Linked DNA regions of Homo sapiens: all the other regions are linked to region 1. The links are contacts of gene promoters, found by promoter capture Hi-C in blood cells and fetal thymus (Javierre and others, 2016). All regions are on one chromosome and are shown on one strand. Each heading gives the region's core, a stretch centred on a gene start or on the middle of the fragment in contact. The rest is flanking DNA. Distances are from core to core; before and after follow the strand shown.

The links. The method cuts DNA at HindIII sites, captures the fragments that hold promoters and counts their contacts. A CHiCAGO score of 5 or more calls a contact.
Region 2: a contact is called between a fragment that was not itself captured here and the fragment with the promoter of SUPT3H in region 1, in 1 of 17 cell types (M0 macrophages). The highest score is 5.1, in M0 macrophages.
Region 3: a fragment that was not itself captured here is called in contact with the fragment with the promoter of SUPT3H in region 1 in 1 of 17 cell types (monocytes); the score reaches 5.6 in monocytes.
Region 4: a contact is called between a fragment that was not itself captured here and the fragment with the promoter of SUPT3H in region 1, in 1 of 17 cell types (M0 macrophages). The highest score is 6.1, in M0 macrophages.
Region 5: a fragment that was not itself captured here is called in contact with the fragment with the promoter of SUPT3H in region 1 in 1 of 17 cell types (M2 macrophages); the score reaches 5.2 in M2 macrophages.
Region 6: a contact is called between a fragment that was not itself captured here and the fragment with the promoter of SUPT3H in region 1, in 1 of 17 cell types (total CD4 T cells). The highest score is 5.3, in total CD4 T cells.

Annotation. Positions count from the first base shown.
Region 1 is chr6:45,376,386-45,379,701 of GRCh38, reverse strand. It overlaps SUPT3H (SPT3 homolog, SAGA and STAGA complex component), which reads left to right and starts at 1,768. Exons shown (of 11, transcript NM_003599.4): 1 at 1,768-1,934. All of the region lies in intron 2 of RUNX2 (RUNX family transcription factor 2), which reads right to left. RefSeq lists silencers at 1,477-1,526, 1,847-2,126 and an enhancer at 1,293-1,836. The HindIII fragment of the contact is 7,128 bases long and covers 1,347-3,316 here.
Region 2 is chr6:44,463,352-44,466,667 of GRCh38, reverse strand. No RefSeq gene overlaps it. Among named protein-coding and RNA genes, the nearest start is that of MIR4642, 29 kb to the right of the region's middle. The HindIII fragment of the contact is 2,391 bases long and covers 594-2,984 here.
Region 3 is chr6:44,617,585-44,620,900 of GRCh38, reverse strand. No RefSeq gene overlaps it. Among named protein-coding and RNA genes, the nearest start is that of MIR4642, 180 kb to the right of the region's middle. RefSeq lists an enhancer at 1-94. The HindIII fragment of the contact is 2,181 bases long and covers 482-2,662 here.
Region 4 is chr6:44,675,650-44,678,965 of GRCh38, reverse strand. No RefSeq gene overlaps it. Among named protein-coding and RNA genes, the nearest start is that of MIR4642, 240 kb to the right of the region's middle. The HindIII fragment of the contact is 960 bases long and covers 1,217-2,176 here.
Region 5 is chr6:45,924,862-45,928,177 of GRCh38, reverse strand. All of the region lies in intron 4 of CLIC5 (chloride intracellular channel 5), which reads left to right. Among named protein-coding and RNA genes, the nearest start is that of CLIC5, 89 kb to the left of the region's middle. RefSeq lists enhancers at 123-786, 787-1,451. The HindIII fragment of the contact is 1,119 bases long and covers 1,301-2,419 here.
Region 6 is chr6:44,859,048-44,862,363 of GRCh38, reverse strand. The region is part of intron 10 of SUPT3H (SPT3 homolog, SAGA and STAGA complex component); the gene reads left to right. Among named protein-coding and RNA genes, the nearest start is that of MIR586, 340 kb to the left of the region's middle. The HindIII fragment of the contact is 2,393 bases long and covers 543-2,935 here.

The DNA of each region.
Region 1 (3,316 bases), core at 519-3,018:
GTAGAGACGGGGTTTCATCATGTTGGCCAGGATGGTTTCGATCTCCTGACCTTGTGATCTGCCCGTCTCGGCCTCCCAAAGTGCTGGGATTACAGGCGTGAGCCACCGCGCCTGGCCTGTGTGTGATTTTATGCAGGCTGGACACCAGTATCCTAGAATAAGATGATCTGGATTCTATCCTGATAAACTGGATCAAACAGGTACTCATCTGATGCAGGTGAAACTCCAGTGCAGGAACTTCTATGATAACATTAACTGAACATAATTTTAATTGAAATGATCTACTTTTATGTTTCTTTAGATGTGAACATTAATTTTTCTCTTAATCTTCTGTTAACTAATTTCTTGGTAATGTACTCAAAAGAGCTTTCAACCAGTCTTCCCATGTAAGAAGTTATCACCATACTCACTCTGTTACTTTCCCTTATACTGCACACTTTGCTCAGCAATGAATTGATCCCTGATTTACACATCAAGCTGAGCTCTCACATCCTAAATATATCTATTCTTTTGGAATTTTAGGTATTTGGCAAATATTGAAGCGTTGGGGAGATTAAAGAGAATCAAACACAACACTAGCAGACTCAACTACAATCCACAGAGGAAATAACCAAATAAGTTGCTATTTTAAACAATTTAAGCAAATAGAAGGAAGGGATTTCAGAACTCACAGTATCTATAGGCAAGAAAATAACTGAAGCAGTGATGCTTAAAAAGACTTGGTGAGGGTTAATACTTGAATCCCTATAAAATACAGTATTTTATAGTATTTGACAACACAGGTGTGAAGGTGAGCATGGATAACCAGTTTTCTTCTCTAAGCAGGCAATAAGAATGTTAAATATAAATAAGACTTCATATAATATAAAGAGTGAAAGACTGAAAGCATTGTCTTACGACTACTGTATTATTTAAAGAACTACATCTATATCAATTAAATGTGGCAGGACAGAATGTACAGTACAATACTGGGGGTGCAAGATTTTAAAATGAGGAACAGGCCAAAATCTAAACACAGAATCGTCCAAAAAAAAAAAAAAGCCTTCAAGTAGAAAAAGTTTTCAATAACAAAACATGGTAGTTAAACGCCTGCGTCTAGTAACATGAGTTGGGGAAAAAACATTAATAGCAGATTAATGAAACAGATTCTGTGCGAGGTCAGGGTAGGGAGTGATGGCGCGCGGAAGCGGCGTAAGAGCTGGTTTCGCCGTCCCAGAAAGGGTTCCACATCCACACGCCTGTACTGCGGCCCTGCGGGGAGCGTTCAGACCCCTCCGTTTCCCTTCACCATTGTAAACGCGCAATCCCATTAAGATCCCGTTCACTCCAATTCCTGGAAAGAAGCTTAGAACGGTGAATCTCTTCCTCGGAGTTGAAAATCAACTTCCAGTGCCGGTCACCCAATCCTTCAAAAATCCTAGCCCTCTCGGGCCCAATTCCTAAAGAATTCAAGCCTGCACCCTGTACACCCTGACCGATCTCAGCTCGTCCCCACTCCGCTCCCAGCGTCCCCAGCTCTAAACGCCGCCGCGTGGCTCAGCGCTGCCCAAGCCGGGCCCTGAAGGCCGCGCACAACGCCCCGCCCCCGGCGAGCGTGGCGGAAGTAGCTCGCTCGGGCTGGGAGAGCGCGCGCCACCTGGCCAAGCGCGCATGCGCCCGCACTGCCAGTGCGGGGGGCGTCCGTATCGCTTACTCCTCAGTCTCCGCAACCCCCGCCCCACCGAGAGTCGGGCTCACGCCATCTTGTACCCCCCCCATCGCCCCGTCACACAGCCGAGTCACCTTTTCCCTTTCTACACTCCACACTCTCAGTCCCCCACCCCGCCCCTTTCCAAGCGTGTCCCGGGCCGCAGCAGCAGAAACCGCACCATCTCCACCCCCACATTCTCCTCGCGGGAAGCGCAGCAGTGCCTCCAAGGGTTCTTAAAGCAGAGGTTGTAGGGCTTGCGGGGGGCGGTGCGGGGATTCGGGCGGGGGAGACGTCAGAGAGCCGGGAGGGACGCAGAGCGGAGATCCCAGCGTCGCTGGGCCCCCGCGCCGGCCACGCCCTGGCCCCGGCTCGAGGGCGGCTGCCTGGGTCTTCGTGGTCTACGCCGGAGTGTTGAAGGGAGGGCGGCTGTGGGAGGCGCTGGCCGGGCGCAGCGCCCTGGTTCCGCTGCCGAGCGTGGAGTTGCCTCTCGACTCCTCCCTTTTGGCGGGTGGGCGTGGGGTGAGGGGGGCTGGGCTGTGCTGAGAAGCGGGGTGCGCGGGTCGTCTAGGTAGTGTGGGGGCTGCCGGAGGAATCATTAAAGAGGGAAATTGTTGCTTTATGGCACGGCGAGAGAAGAGTTAGGTAGTTAGTGGGAGTGTAGCATCCAGAAAGAGGAAAAGATCCGCTGTGTTCTCTGTGGGGTGAGCTCACGTCTGTGACCCCTGGGGAAATTATTTAGCTTGTCTTTGCCTTGTTTTGGTCTGTAAAATGGCGATCTTATAGCCTATTTCAGAATTGTGAGGATTATATGAGAAAATACACGTTAAACGCTTAGAACAGCGCCAGGTGCTGCTCAGTACATATTAGCTCTGCTTTTGCTCTCCACGTTTTAGGAGTTCAGAATGACTGTGACCTTATTTTCTCAGAGAATCAGGACACTTGGTCTCACACGTGAGAGTGAAGTTATGAAGACAGTGATATGTAATATTTGACACTCAGACGATCCTGGACGTAGTATTACTGTACACGTGGATAAATTAGCATTTCTCCAAGAGGCTAATAGAAATGTTAAGTTATTTCGGTAGAAAGAAATGTGTGTGTATATATATGTATATACATATGTGTGTATATAAGTATATGTATGTGTATATATGTATGTATGTATTTGGAAGGAGAGGACCTGGGGTCTTAGTATATGTGAAGGGCAGACTCTGGAAGAGGAATTAAATTCGCCCTGCAAAGATTTACTTGAAGGACAAAACTTGGGGAATTTCTGGTGAATGTTTCAAAGAGGCTGAATTTGCCTATGAGAAACAGTTCGTGAGAGTACTTTGCAAGAATGGAATGCTCTTCATTGTGCTATGGAAAGTTTCTTATCTCAGGATATTCGGGACGTTGGAGCGAAGTATGCCTAAGTCTAGGGCTGCACTTTTCACTAGCAGTTTCTGCCTTGATGGAGATGTTCCATAATCTGTGCCTTTAGGCACTAGTGGTAGCCTAGGCACAGTGGCTCTTCAGCACTTGAAATGTGATAAGTGTCACTGAGGAACTTAATTTTTAATTTTATTCATAAATTAATAAATTGATTTACGTTTAAATACCCACATGTGGCTAGTGGTAGCTACT
Region 2 (3,316 bases), core at 540-3,039, 910 kb after region 1:
TGAGCAGAGATCACACCACTGCACTCCAGCCTGGGCAAAAAGCGAAACTCTGTCTCAAAAAATAAATAAATAAAAATAAATCCAGGAGTTCTCTGCCAGGGGTTGGAGACATGAGCTGTTCACTAAGCCTGATGACTTTGAATAATTATGAATTTATTCACAAAAAAAATGTGTATAGTGTATGCCAGGGGTCAACTGTGTAACTGGGTGTTTGTCTAATTAACTTCCATGTAAAATATGTTTATTTAGTAAAAGGTAAGAAATTAGGCCAGGCGCAGTGGTTCACGCTTGTAATCCCAGCACTTTGGGAGGCTGAGGTGGGCAGATCACCTGAGGTCAGGAGTTCGAGACCAGCCTGGCCAACATGATGAAACCCCGTCTCTACTAAAACTACAAAAATTATCCAGGCATGGTGGCGGGTGCCTGTAATCCCAGCTACTTGGGAGGCTGAGGCAGGAGAATCGCTTGAACCTGGGAGGTGGAGGTTGCAGTGAGCTGAGATTGTGCCACTGCAGTCCAGCCTGGGCGACAAAGCTAGAGTCCCTCTCAAAAAAAAAAAAAAGTAAGAAATTAAAACAAGCCAATTTTAAGCTTACATGTATATTAACACAATAGTAACCACAGCAATTGTTTAAGAGTTAAACCAATTAAAGATTTTTTTTTAAGGAGGGGGTAGGTTATCACTGATATAGTTCAGAATTGCTGATTACTGCTGCATGGTGATAATGAAAAGCAGACCAATTCTTACCCATTTATATAGTCTTTAGTGAATGTATGTCCCGCTGGACTGCTTTCACCACCTGCACTGTTACCACTCTCAGAAGTGTCCCAGTTTAGATGATAAATTATTAAATATATGGTCAGTGGTTTATTTGAATCTTTGTTTTTGCTTATATGGGGGCAGGAGGGGAAAAAATTGCTGTTGGGCACAACTGAGAGAGGAAAGAAGCCTGGAGCTACACAGCAAACAATGAATTAATACTTTGAGGTCTTCTTGCTGGACTGGAATCTGCTTCCATGGCCCTGCTTCTCTTCCTTGGGGTCACATGAAAGAAAATTAAGCCTCTTGCATGTTACAGCCCTTCAAATTGGGGAAGGGCTTGCTACAGGTTGAACTGTGTCTTCTCCAAAAAAGATGTTAGAGTCCTAACCCCAATACCTGTGAATGTGACCTTAACTGGAATAGGGTCTTTGCAGATGAGCAAGCTAAAATGAGGTCATTAGGGTGGGCCCTAATCCAATACACCTGGTGTCCTTACAAAAGAGGGAAGCATGGACAGAGGCAAGCACACAGGAAGAATGCCATGTGAAGATGAAAACAGAGACTGGGGTGATGGAGCTACAGTACAATGAATGCCAAAGATTGCCAGCAAACTGTCAGAAGCCAGGAGAGAGGCAAGGAACAGGTTCTCCCCCACAGCCCCCAGAAGAGCCAACCCTGATGACACCTTGACCTTGGACTTCTAGCCTCCAAAACGGAGAGACAGTAAAGTCTGTTGTTTCAGCCCGCAGTGTGCAGCACTGTGTTACGGCAGCCCGAGGCACCTAACACGGGGCTCTTACATCACTTTCCCACGCCCCACCAGCTCTCCGCCCAACCACGACTCCCATCTCTTCGCCCTGATGATTCTGTTTCCCCCAAAGTTCATAACTGAACACAATTCCCCTTCTAGTCTTATACAGAGGCCATTGGTATCTAGGCCCCAAATCTGTCAGATTCTTCTATTCATCGTTATCTCATTTCATACTGTTACATTCAGCTCATCATTCTGTTTGGTCAAAATACTTTTTGCATCCTGCAATATTTTTCAAATCATGAGCTCTCCTGACCAGCTTCAAATCATCCCGGAATGTAATAAGTGTGCTTTTTAGGCTTTCCTGCAAGTGAATGCTTGGAATGTTAAGCAGTCCTGGGTCAAGGGCAGAGTCTGGGGCACACCGCCAGATACCGCCCTTGGGGATGACACTATTCCCTTAATCAGCACAACTTTTTGTGCTGACCTTGTACCTTGGTGCTTTTATTTCTTTAAATATTGTCCTATCTTGACCATAGTTACATCAAGTTTTATAAAACAAAGTTTTATAAACACAAAGGTAGTAATTAAGTCTTTCTCTTGACTTTTACCATTATTTAATGAAAAGATTTACTTTACATGAAAAGTAATATTGGCCGGAGTGTTCCCTCTTCCTGTTTCTCTCCGTTATTCACAGTTGGCCCAACCGCATCAGGCGCTCCTGAAGGCCTGGTTCCACCACCAGCAATGTTAAGTTCTGCATTGGGGAAAATAATTATGCTCTTTAGGGATATCTTTGCACATTCAGAAAGTCCAGAGATGGTCAATCCGGGCTGGCGTGGCACTCCCTGGTGTATGTGGACCTGGGCCCCTGCTGTCTTGTCCTCCCTCATGCCTGGCCACCCTTCCCAGTGTCTCCTTGTGGCAGGTACAGTGGCCACAGGGCTGCGAGCCTCTAGTGTCTGCCTCTAGCTGGCAGAAGAGAATAAGGAGGGTACAGCCTCTCCCATCTTAAGAACACGTCTCTTGCACTCATCATTCCTGTTCTGTTCCACTGGCCAGGACTTAGACACACCACCTTCTTAATATGGGCTTTGAAGACTGACTGTTAAAGACTGCAGAGAATGTCCACTGAGAGAGTGCTGGTGATTTTGCTAAAATATGAAACACATTTGGAGACTAGGCCATGTATAGGAAATGTGGGGCTTGTAACTTTGGATTCCTTTCCAAAGTGTGGAATTTATCTGTAAAGTAAGTGTGTTCATTGGAATTTAGTTCAGCTGTAACAGAAAACCCCGCAGTAACAGTGGTTTGCTTCTGTTTCCCGTGTATGAATGTTTTAAATGACAGTAATGCCTACCACCGACTGAAGGCCTGCTGCGTGCCAGGAATGGGCCTAGATACTTTCCATTTCACCTTCTCGAGACCCAGTAAAGGAGGGCCCCCCTTTACAGGTGAAGAGCTAAAGCTTGGAGAAGGGAAGTAACCTGTCCAAGGTCACACAGCTCCTTCATGGTAGAGCCTGCAGGAACTCAAAGCTCTTTCCACTCCACTGACCACACCAGAGGATGACAAGTGCCACCCTCACTGCACCCAGGTCAACTAGGTGGAAAGGGACCTCGCCCAGCTGACTGTTTGGTGACAGAAGCATGTTTTCCTGGACATGTGTGCTAAATGGTGAAAACTAAAATTGAAATGTGCATCCACACTCATCACCCCACACAGGCTCTTCCTGTTAATTTTTTTAAATACCACAGAGTGACTTATTTGGGTTACGCTTCTGGTTCACCAAGCACAACTGT
Region 3 (3,316 bases), core at 323-2,822, 760 kb after region 1:
GGTGAAGGCAAACACCAGCAGACAGATATTCGTGCACTTGTGTCAACTGTCGGGATGGGTACCTTGGGAATACCAATATGTCCTTTAAGAACAAAATTTAACTCACCTGTTATTTTCCAACTCAAATATCCTTCCTTCCACTGAACCTGCCTGATTATTTCACACCCTCCATGGTAGAAATAATGTCCTCCTCTGAACTGGGACAAAAAAAATATAGCCATATGTCTGCTATAATATTGAATCATTTCTACTTTTCATTATGGTTTTTGCTGCCTGTGAGCAGTTTGGGGAAAGGTCTCCTATCTGACTTTTCCGTGACATCCTGGTCCCCCACAAAGCACCCGGCATGTGACAGTCACACAAGAAATGTTTACTGGATGAGCAAATGAATTTCTCAGGTTGTTGTCTCTGAAGTGGAAACTTTAGCCTCCGTGGGTGGTCTCAAGTGGAGACGCAAACCTGCCACAATCACACGCAAGCTTCTGAGGACACTCCATGCACAGGTGCTATTTGGGGAGGAGTCCACAGATTGTATTAGATTTCCAGAGGGATCCAGTTCCCCAAAAGATTAAGAACCACAGCTCTGGAACTGGGGAGACAGTCCAGATGAGGCAGTCTCTGTGACAGCTTTGGACTTGCGCCCCCAGGAGTGCCTGGTGGTGAGCTTCTGGAAGCTGGAAGATAGGCCATGCCTCCACTCTGTCCCTCTCTCCTTGGCTCACTCAACAATAATAACGTCAATAAATGCCACCATTTTTCAGGGACCTATAGGGTCTGCTCTAGTATTTGCTATATTGCAAATGAAGAACCAAGCCTCAAAGAGGAAGGTGTCACTGATGTCACAGAGCCAGTAAGTGCAGGGCTGGATTCTGAACCCAGGCCTTACTTCAGAGTCCTTATAGCTCTTCCTCTGAGGCAGCTCATCAAATCCATGCAAGTAAGACATCAAGTAGTGTCCCTGGATGACAGGGGCTTCCAGTAAGGAACCCCTAGAGTCTCACCTATATAAAGTGTGTGTGTGTGTGTGCACGTGTGTGATAACGGATGGATGGATGGATGGATCACTGGGTAGAAAAGGAGAAAAGGGACTCCTGCCTTTAGCTTCTTCTAGATGTTTATTATCCAATCCATAGGTATGGCACAGACTGAATTCTATGGATAAACCCTGATTTGGAGAACAATAAATTCAAATAAGAAGGCTGTTGCACTGTGTTAAATATGCTCACCCACCACCACTAAATTAATGTTGAAATCCTAACCCCTAGTACCACCAGAATATGATCTTACTTGGAAATAGGGTCATCGCACATGTGATCAGTTAAGATGAGGCCATACTACAGAGTATGATGATCCCGTAATCCAATATGATCAATGTCCTTATAAAAGAGGAAATTTAGACACAGACAGACACACAGACACACACAGGGAGATGACCATGTGAAGACGAAGGCAGAGGTCCGCAAGCGAAGGGACACCAAAGGTCGTAGCAAGCCACCAGAAGCGAGGAACAGGCTTCCCTCACAGCCCTCAGAAGGAGCCAACCCTGCCCACAACTTGATCTTGGCCATCTGGCCTCCAGAACTGTGAGAGAATAAACTTCTGTTGTTGAAGCGACCCAGTTTGTGGTACCTTGCTATGGCAGCCCAACCAAACAAATACACTGTTTCTCCAAAAGTGTGAAGGTGTGAAAAGGTGCATGTGATCTGAACTCTAGTTCTATCTCATGTGCCAAATTCTAACCTTTGACTCTTTTAGCCTCCCACAAGCTGTAGACAAACAATTCAGGCAGTATTGGCATGGCAGGAGTGACAGAAAGCTATTATGGATTGATTCGATTTTGCCCAGCACATGGCTTTGTCTTCATCAGACTTTTCTTAAATTTTGTACACTCCTTAACTCAAACCACTGCTCTTCAGATGTTTGCATTGCTTATTTGTTTATTTCCAAGGAATACTTAACCAAATCAGAAGCCAAGGCTCTGGAAATCTGGTTGGAACATAACCTCCTCCAGTTCCTAGCTTTACAACGGAGCAACCCTCAGTCCTTAACTGTGACCCATGAGTATTGGACCCTGGGCAAGTCTCACGGAGGGGAAAGGAAAGAGGCCTGAGGACAGCCCCTGCCCAGAAGGTGTCTCCAGCCCAGCCCAGGAGATAAGACTGAAAGGCAGAGTATAAGGTCTGTGTGATGATAACAGAAAACAACGCAAGAGAAGTCACAGCAACAGCCACGTGAGAAACACAACCAGAGTGATGAGTTCCAAAAAGGGAGAGCGAAATTTGGGGAAGTTAAAAAGATGAGAACGGATAAATTAAAATGTGCAGTAGATTGAAATTCAGGCTTTGCCCAAGTCAAGGGGAACTTGAAACTCAAGTTCCCAGATCACATCTAAATTTGGAGCTGTAGTTTTAAGTGGGTTTGAAACCCTGCCAAATTGCCCATCTTTTGGGTTCAAATCTCTTGATTTATTTGAAGCCACAAACATGGCATTTCTAAACAGAGGAACCAAAAACCAGAGAACTCAGCTGGGTTGGAACCCTTCATTATCGTTAATGCCTCTGAGTCCTCAAGGAGCAAGTCCTTACCCCACTGTGGGTGAAAGACAGGGCCTGTTGTGCTTCAGGTGCGTTTTCCGTTCTGTTTTCACTCACATTAAGAAGCTTAAGCCCCTGAGCTGGAGTTACTGAGCCCTTGCTGTGTGCCAGGAACTGGGCTGCATTCATGAGAGCTGCCTGTGGGGCCTGTACCACAACCTGCCCTGGCCTCACACTTGGGACTTAGCCCAGGGACTAAATCATGTACAAGTGCAAAGTAACAAGCCCATACCTGCAGGATGGAGCCACAGACTGGGTCAATACAGATCCAGAAATAGAAGGCACCAGAGGTAACAACTTCCATACATTGTCTTCACTCACAGCTGTCATAATTTACCCACAAATTGATTCAATCTTTAGCAGTGAACAGTGAAATCCGGTAACTGAGGACATCCTCTCCTAAGGGTTCAGTGACCTCTGATTTTCTAATTCTCAGACAAGTCATCCTGGTGAGGTGACTTGTCCTTGAGGAACCTGCAGACAAAATGACTATATGGAGGTGCTACTGTGGAAGGGGAGGGCTGTGAGTCCAGCACTGGCCGGAGGGACATTTCCGAGGGTGACCGCGTGTGTACGTGTGTGTGATATGAACATCCACCAGGCCCTCCTTGACCCACAGAAGCAATGTCTCTGTAACATGAGACCTGGGGTTGGGGGAGACATCCTCCAGAGGGTCCCCCTAGGCTGGCCTGGACATCACCTGTGCTTGTCTCTCCCACTTC
Region 4 (3,316 bases), core at 447-2,946, 700 kb after region 1:
ATTAAAATTTGGGTATCCTGTTATACACAGCCAGAACTGTTCCTAACTGATACATCCCATTAAGTGGAATCAAACGCCTGTGTCACAATTGGGAACCTCCCTCATGACGCCTGGGTTGCATCATGGGGCCACTCTGGACAGGCAGGGGCTGGAGTTAGATGGAGCCTCCACCTCTGGATAAGATAGAGAGACAAGAGGAGAAGCAAGGGGGAGGCCGGGCGGGGCAGCTCCCCCAGCTCACAGGAGGCTTCTGTCTCACCCCTTCTCTCTGAAGCAGTGGAGTCATGTGGGTGCCAAACAGGTGTGCCTGGACCACCAAGGCCCTCCGTGGCCCAGTGAGGGATGGACAGAGGAGGAGACAGAGAGGGGATAAGGGATCTTGGCACTAAGCCCTGGAGTGTGTGTGCACACGTGCGTGCATGAGTGTGTATGTGTGTGTGCATGACTCTAGAATAGATCACACACAGACACACTGAGACACACACCCTGGAGCAGGGACAGTCAGCTGACAGGCAGGCATGACCCTGAGCAGCTCTGCCATGCCAGCCCTGGGTTTCTTGCAGGGGTGACGTGTCATCCATCCCTTTTGGAAGTGGAGTCATGGGGGCAGGGAGATCATGCCTCCAGATAAGGGTCCAAGCTGGTGGATACCTTCACTCCAGGAGAATGAAGGCAGGGAAAAGTGTTCATGGAGCGGAAACTGGGATGTTCCCTCAGCTCTTCGGACTAGGGCTTGTACACTTTCTTTTGACTCCTATCATGCCCCTCCTGACACTATGTTCTAGGGGTAACTCATCCTTCTCTACAGCTAAACTGTGAGGCAGGGACAGAGACAGGGCCTAGCACTCCTGGCAGTGGTGCACACAGTTGATGCACGAGTGAAGAGATACTATTTTGTCACTGTTATGTGGGGGCTGTGATACCCCTAGGCTGCGGTGGCTTGTGATGTTACTCATGACATCTACTTAGTGTGTGTTATATTCCAGGAATAGTGCAATGCAGGCACCCAGCATGTGCGTATGTGCGGGTCTGTGTGTGTGTGCATGTATGCGTGTGCACATGTGCATGTGTGTGCATAGGGTAGGGAATGATGCTGTCACCAGTTACCACCTCTTCTCTATCCTTTGTCTTTTGAGATCTTTTTTTTTAAGCCCATACATGGAATTCCAGCTGTAGGTCAACACATGCTACAAGAAAATTTTTTTTAATAAAAGCTTGCCACAAGTTACATGAAAACATGGCCCATTCTAATCACAGAGGGGCTTAAAAGCAGAAAACTTTCTCTGGCTGGAGTCAGAGAGATGAGGCAGGGGAGAAAGGCAGAAGAGATATGGCTGAGGGAAGTCAGAGAGATTGGAAGTGTGAGAAGAACTTGACCCACTTTTGCTGTTTGAAGATGGAGGGAGCAGTGGCGAGAGTGGCTTTACAGAGCAGAGAGAGGCTCTTGGATGACATCAGAAAGGGGCTAGATCCTGAATTCTCTTCCACAGCCTCTGGATCAGGGCCCAGGCTAGTGGATACCTTGATTTTGGACCGTGAGACCCTAAGCTGAGCCATGCTGTACCAGACTTCCGCCCTACAGAACTGTGATATAATAAGTGGGTGTTGTTTTAAGCCACAGAGTTCGTGGTTCCACAGCAATGGGAGATAATCCATCCTCCCATCTGGCTTTGCAGAGGCCCCTGGGTGCCAGTCTGTCTTGGGCGGTTCCTTAGCCTCTCTTGGGTGCTTCTTAGTCCTTGGCCTGGGAACCAAGAAACTAATTCCTGCTAATACGTAAGTAGCAGTGACATGGATGTCTTTTAGCTGAGGCTTTGGAGGGGATTTAACAGGAGACTCACAGGCATTCACATGGGTTGGAGGTGACAGTGCAAACCAAGCCAACAGAGCCGACTCTTCTCCCAGCTCAGCCTCTGCTCACAAATCTCATTTCTGATATTACTTCTGAGGGATCCAGTCACAGGAAGCAGCCTACAGGCTAAGCAGCTCTTTGAGGCTGACTCAGCCAGCGGCCTTATGGGATTTAAAGCCCAGGCTCCAGAGTGTCTAGGACTGGGACAGGAGACCACAAAACCAGCATCCCCACTGCGTCCAGCCAGGTCCTACCTGCCAATAAATGCCTCCTTCTGCTAAGCGGTGACTGCTTTTGTTTGCCAGAAGTCATCTCATTGAAGCTTGTAATCGTCTTCTCTCCTCCTCCAGGGAGACCACCAGCTTGGGAGACAGAGGTCTATATGGCCTGCACCGGCTCTCCCTCCTGCCTCTGCAGACTCAGTAGGCACAGCCTCACCCCTGAGTATCCGAGTCACTGACGAACATGCTCAGTGGGCCAAGGCTGAGGGCATCTTTGTTGGAATGTTTGGTTCCAATGTTCTAGGTGGCAAACTCCATGCCCTGTGGCCCTCCTCAAGGACGTGCCCCTCCAGGGTAACACCAACCCAGTCACTGCTTCCCCTTGAAGACAGTCATTCAACCAGTCACTGTCCCAACCACACAGTATAGTTCTCTGGTCTTGTCCAGAAACCCCGTATCTACTGTCTTTTACTGATATGCTAATCCTGGCACCCTGCCAGGAGGGCAACATGGATGCATGGACACACTCTCTCCCAGTGCATTCATGCTTCTCTCCAGGGGGCACTCCCAGGAGAAGCAGTGTGGCGCAGCAGTTAGGGCACAGCCCTGGAGCCAGGTGCCTCGGTGTGGATCCTGGCTCTGCTACTTGCTACCTGCGTGGCACTGGGCAAAGCTGTTAACCACATTCTCTGTCTCAATATCCTCATCTGCAGAGTCCAAGTAATCATCATAGCCAATTAAATACTATTTGGCCATAAAAAAGAATGAGATCCTGTCATTTGCTGAGCATACATGGGTGAAACTGGAGGTCATTATGGTAAGCGAAATGAGCCAGATATGGAAAGACAAACATCGCATGTTCTCACTCATGTGTGGGAGCTTTTTAAAAAGTTGATCTTGTGGACGTGAAGAGTAGAATGATAGAATGCCAGAGGCCAGGAAGGTTGTGGGTATGGGGTGTGGAGGACGAAGAGAGGTTGGTTAATGGATACAAACATACAGTTAGAGAGAAGGAATAAGTTCTAATGCTCAGTAGTAGAGTAGGGTGACTGTAGTTAAAAACAATGTATTGTACATTTCAAAATAGCTAAAAGTGAGGACTTGAAATGTTCTCAACCCATACAAATGGTAAATACTTGAGTCAGTAGTTACCCTAAATACCCTGACTCAATAATTACACATTCTATGCATGTAACAAAGTATCATTTGTACAAATGTTATTTGTCAATAAAAATCATCATAC
Region 5 (3,316 bases), core at 611-3,110, 550 kb before region 1:
GTAATTTGTTGGGAAAAAGTTGCTACATGGAACTTTGGCTTTAAAACCCCAGGCTTTCTTTCAAATCCTGCTCCAGCGCCGTCTTGCAGGAAGGCACTCCACCCCATCTCAAGCTTGTTTCCAGGCTGAGCCGGAGTAGCCTCATGAGTTAAGACAGGCACAGACTTAAGGCTTAAGCATAAAGCAGCACTTCTTTTCATTCCTCTTGTTAGCCAGACCATTTTCTACCTTGCGAATACATTTGAATCCCGTGGGGGTTTTAGAGGAAGAATAACCCCCATAGGTTCTTAGTTGGAAGGGACCCCTGTAACAAAAGACAGATTAACAAGAGAAAAACAAGCAGAAGTTTATTAACATGTATATTTTCTATAATGAGGAGTTCTCAAAGAGATGGCTTTGAATTCTAGTTTCACAGCATCCTCATCAAAGGACAGTAAACTTTTAGAGATGTGACAAGGGAAAAAACACTTTGAGTCTCTAGGGGCAGCAACTTCGGGGGATAGCAAATGAATGGCAGATAAAGGCCAGTTAGCAAAGCTTGTTCAATGTAGATTCCTGCAGGGCCATCTCCAGGAGCATAAGCGTCTTAAGTTGTTTTCAGTGGTTCTCCCTGGTAGAAGGGGGGAGGCAAGATACGTTTTGTCTTTGTAAATCTACGTCCTGCTTTTAGACAAATAGAGGGAGGGCAGAGAGCTTTACTGCCTCTGTTTCTTCTGAATTGTCTTCATCTCAACAATCCTTCCTATTTTGGGGGTGGCATATCCTGGTTTCCCACAGGGTCTTGTTACGAAGCAGATATTGAGGTAGTGGATCTGGGGCAAGGCCTGAGAGCTCCCAGGCGATTCGGACACTGTTGGTCCAGGGCTGTGCTGTGAGAAACAGGGTTCTGAGCAGCTGTCTCTGTGAGGAAGCATGCTGGGTGTGCCTCCTTCATCATTGTCACCCCAGACCCCAGCTCAGCATCTGACCCAGGGCAGATGGTCCATCAATATTTGTTAAATGAGAGAAAAAAAAGTATACAAACACTTCAACACACCTCTACCTTGTCTATGCCTTTGCTTGGGAGATGATGACGGGGCCTCATCAGAGCCACGGGCACGTCCTCCAGCCACTTCCTGTCCCCGCTGTGGAACCTCACCTTTTAAATCTGTCCCCATGTTGCAGACTCCCCTATGCTCTGACTGTATTTATTTAAAACTTCCCAGTCCCCATTTAAATCCTATGATGTTCTGTGACTAGCATTGTCTTTGACGTGAGAACATACAATGCTTTTGTAGCCTCTGTTATATGATATCAAGCTTCATGGTGAATAATCTCACTTAGAACCAATCAATAAAAGAATGCAAGAACCTGAGCAGCTCTCCTCACTAGGATGGCCAGTGTGCTGGCGGGCTTCGCTGAAGTGGGATTTTTCTTTTCACCATTATTTTTATAACCACATTCAAGGGAAATTCTATTTGGTGTTAAAAGTGATACTTCACCAAGAGTCAAAAGAGAAAACACAGAAGGCTAAATTCTAGACTTTTTTCAGCTAGCAGCCAGAGGTCAAATTATTTTTCTAAGACCCCTGGTGGACAAAGCATTTAATGATCTGGATCAAGGTAAATAAAATACGTTTCTCTGGCCGGGCGCGGTGGCTCATGCCTATAATCCCAGCACTTTGGGAAGCCGAGGGGGGCGGATCACAAGGTCAGGAGTTCAAGACCAGCCTGGCCAATATGGTGAAACCCCATCTCTACTAAAAATACAAAAAAAAAAAAAATTTAGCCGGGTGTGGTGGCGGGTGCCTGTAGTCCCAGCTACTCGGGAGGCTGAGGCAGGAGAATGCCATGAACCCAGGAGGTGGAGCTTGCAGTGAGCCGAGATCACACCACTGCACTCCAGCCTGGGTGACAGAGCGAGACTCCATTTCAAAAAAAATAAAAAAAATAAAATATATATATATATATGTATATGTATGTATATATGTGTGTGTGTGTGTGTATGTGTGTGTGTGTATATATGTTTCTCTGTGCTAGTGTCTAGAACCTCTTCCCTTCCAGAACATTCTGGGGAGGGGAGGGTTGAGCCACGTGATTTCTCAGACCTCCTGCACTCAGCTCTAACTCTGATGGTCTCATGCCCACTGATGTTTGCAATGATAGTTATCCATGTTCTGTTTCCATTGTGGGGACCCTAAGATGAGTTTTACTCAACATTTTGCCCAGGTCTGAAACTGCCTCAGTCCTACCTGAGTCGTTTGGCAGAGAGGTTGATGCTAACCTATGCTTCTCTCTTGGCTCTGATAACAAAGTGGCTGGGACTCTGTGGGAGGGTATCTCAGGCCAAACTAATTGAATCCCTTCATCTATCCTCAAAAGACCAAGGGCTACTATTATACAAAGAAAGGGAACTGTTGTTCCTCTACAGAGTTAAAGCTTATTACATAAGTATATAAATAGAGTCACATGATTTTAGGGTCCTTCATCTTTCCTCAAACCCCACTGAACGGCTTATTCTTTCAACAAATACTTATTCAGTACCATACGCTGTGCAAGGTGCTAGAATAAAAGTGAAATAATGAGGCTGAGCGCGACGGCTCATGCCTGTAATCTCAGCACTTTGGGAGGCCAGGGCAGGCGGATCACGAGGTCAGGAGTTCAAGACCAGCCTGGCCAATATGGTGAAACCCAGTCTCTACTAAAAATACAAAAATTAGCCAGGCGTGGTGGCACGCGCCTGTAGTCCCAGCTACTTGGGAGGCTGAGGCAGAAGAATTGCTTGAGCCAGGGAGATGGAGTTTGCAGTGAGCTGAGATCGCACCATTGCATTCCAGCCTGGGTGACAGAGCGAGACTCTATCTCAAAAAAAAAAAAAAAAAGCGGAATAATGACATGTTGGCATGTTGGCAATACCTATGTATATTGGCAAATGTTGTGTTTGGCTGTTTGTAATAGAAGCCTGACTACAGTGGCTAAAGCAAACATGTATTTTATTAGCAAAACCTATATAGCATTTTACTATGAACCATGCCCTGTTCTAAGCACTCTTGATAAATGTTTACTTCTTAAGAGGAATTTGCTTTTCTCACATGACAAGAAGTCCAGAGAGTAGAGAGTTCCAGGCAAATGTAGTTGCTGAAAGAAGTCGAGAATTGAGCTGCTGCTTAGAGCTCCTAATTCTCCATCTTTCGTGTGTGACTTTCATTCTTGTTTCACAGGATGGTTGCTCCACCCCCAAACATCACATCCGCATTCCAGACAATGCCAGCCGCATCTATCTTATCTTTCCCAGAAGCCCATTGATTAATTTCTACCGATATCTCTTTAGCCAGAAC
Region 6 (3,316 bases), core at 490-2,989, 520 kb after region 1:
GAATCCTTCACAGGCTGTAGTAAGAGCAAGTAGAGGGCACTTCACCTGGTTTTGGGGTTCCAAAAAGGCTTTGTGGAGAAAGGATTGCCTGAGCTGAATTTTGAAGAGTAAGAAGAGTTAAGCCAAGCAGAGAAGGGGGCAAATTGCAGAAGGAGCATGAGCAAAAGTGAGTTCCAAGGAGGTGTGAAACAGCACTGCATTGTCAGGTTATTACCAACATTTTGAAATGCTTAAAGCATGAAGTACATGGTGAGAAATGGCTGGAGATGAGAAGAAAAGGAGAGGCGGGGGCTGAGGCATGGAGAATGCTGTATTTAGGAGCTTGGGTTTAATCCTTAAGGTAGTGTCCTTGCAGGGCTTTTAAGCGAACATCAGAGTCAGAAGGTGTATTATAGGTACTGTCAACTTTTCAGTGGCTTTGAAACTTCAGCCACATAACTTGTTCTTCAAACAAGATCTTACATTTTAGCTTAATATTAAAATCAGATCAAAGCAGAACTGCCCAGTTGAGGTTGGGGTGGAAAACACAGAACTTCCAAGCTTGGTATCTTCCTTATTCTTCCCTAGCCCCTCTTGTCAGCTCCTAGGACAACTCTGGGAAACTTCCAGGGCCCTTCTTAGCACACTGTTAAAAATCAACCCTTTCAATTTTTATATTAGAAAACTGTGGCTGGGGCCAGGCATGGTGGTGGCTCACATCTGTAATCCCAGCACTTTGGGAGGCTGAAGCAGGTGAATCACCTGAGGTCGGGAGTTGAAGACCAGCCTGACCAACATGGTGAAACCCTGTTTCTACTAAAAATACAAAAATTAGCTGGGCGTGATGGCAGACACCTGTAATCCTAGCTACTCAGGAAGCTGAGGCGGGAGAATCGCTTGAATCCAGGAGGCGGAGGTTGTAGTGAGACAAGATTGTGCCACTGTACTCCATCCTGAGCGACAGAGTGAGACTCCTTCTCAAAAAAAAACAAAAAGAAAAGAAAAGAAAACTGTGGCTGAGCATCATGGCCCATGCCTTTAATCCCTTTGGGAAGCTGAGGTGAGAGGATCACTTGAGCCCAGGAGTTTGAGATTAGCCTGGGCAACATAGGAAGACCCCATCTCTACAAAAATAAAACAACTAGCCAGGTGTGGTGGTGCTTGCCTGTAGTCCTAGCTACTCAGGAGGCTGAGGCAGGAGGATCACCAGGAAGTTGAGGCTGCAGTGAGCTGTGATCGTGCTACTACACTCCAGCCTGAATCACAGAGTGACACCCTGTATCCAAAAAATAAAAAAACAAAACAAAACAAAAGAAAGCTATGACTGAGAAAATGAGAAAATTAGAGTATCTCAGTGAATTAATAGCAGAACCCAGGACTCTTGATTCTCAATCTAGTTCTTTTCTGCAGTATAATGTACATCATTGGCAAAAGAAAACTTTTACTGTTTAATACAGAAATTCCTCACTCTTATGCAGGTGCAATAGGTGAGATTAAAAAAATATATATCACCCAAGTAGAATAAATGTTCTACATTGAGTATATCCTTATTAATCTTATTAATGCAGACTTTTTTTAAAAAGATTCTTTTAGAATTGGTTTCTAGTCCATATAGTTTCTTTGCTTTTTTATGTTAGTGGCTAGAATACCAAGTTACCATCCCTCAACTTGAATTTTTTAGGAATTAGATACAGGGAGTTTTTTGTTACAGCCTCTTGTTGTTAATGAAATCACTTGCCATTAAGTCCTAGTAGTGTCTGTTTACTGACCTTGCTTAAATAGTATGTCATGGCTGAATCCTGTTATAATGGCAAAAGCAGTTGAATAAGAGTCGGGAGACCTGGTTCTACTCCCAGTCCGGCCATTAACTGGTTGAATAACATTTGGAAAAGTCACTCAAGCTCAACTGTACAATGAGAAGGTTGAACTAAATTACTTCTAAGGCCCATTCGAGCTCCTACAGTCTGTGATTCTAATTATAGGGTATGTTGTGTTTTATCTGTGAGAGTGGTGATGTTATAGACTGCTGCAAGCTCTCATTTTTGGTGGTCTGAATGACTAAGGATAGCTGGGTACATGAAGCAGTTGATTGTGAATATCTCTGAAGAGACGCAAAAGTGGGCATTTACTCATCAGGGCAGAGGATATGTATTAATGAAATGAGTTCATTTATTTGCAACTATATTCACAGTCTGGGAATTTGAATGGCTTCACTGAAATTCTAGTAATAAATTCCCCACGACCTTATCAGTGGACAGTTCAGCCTTGGGACAGCCCACTTAGCAGATGTTTATTAAGAGTGTTTATGAAGAGCTGTGCTTATCTCAGTGGGAGTCATGGTATATAAACTCTTTTAGGACTCTCAGAATAATAGAAGTCCTTCATAGTCCATTTCTGAATTCCCCATTCTGTGTTTGATTCCCCAATCTCATTTTTCTGCAGAAGCCCTTCCTCAATGTGCTATTTAAAGTCCTTTAAATCAAGCCCTATTACTTTGAGAATAAGTGTGATATAACAAACAATGACATTATTATATTGTAAGGACAAGAAATGGGGTTAAGTTATAAAGCAGAACATTTTTATTTACACAGCAGTGTTTTAATAACCAGCAAAATTTTGGAAGAGAACTAGAAAAATAGTTAAAAGATAAATGGACTTATGTTTCAATGTTATGATTTTTCACATACACTAAAGTTCATTTTTACTTTTTTAAATCCTTGAATTTCGGACAGGACCCTAGGAGAGTTGTTGGTATCCTTTGGTCAACACATTTGTCAGGGTATTTTCTTTTTTCAATGTCCTTCTATGGTTCTATTAAGCAATAACCTCATTAGCACCACATTCTGAGTGGTATAGTATGATAGCTTTACTACAAAGGGGTTCTGTATTTCACTTGCCAGGATATAACACTCTTATGACAGGAGAGAAAAAGAAAACTTGCTATGAAGGGGAAGCTTAGACATTATTTACTCTAAATATTGGAGCTTTCCATTTGAAAGTTTACAGAGGCTGAAGAATTGTTGAATTTGGAGATTTTGAAATGAAAATCTCCAGCAAGCTCTAAAAATGTTTCCACCTTAAAAAACAAGTTCTGTTTCCTTCTGTGAGCATTTGCCTTACATAGCTTTGGATTAGTCTATAAGTTATTTTCATCACAAATACCTTTCACTAAGAGACACAGTATCACCCTCTTCTGGAGTGAAACAAATAAAACATTCTGGTTCAGGGCTAGGCAACTTGAGAACAGACTGTCAGTTGTGTTGAGTTAGATGGACTCTTTTTACCTCTTTATATCAAGTCTATTTTTTAGGTTACATCAAGTTAAAGTAATGCAAAC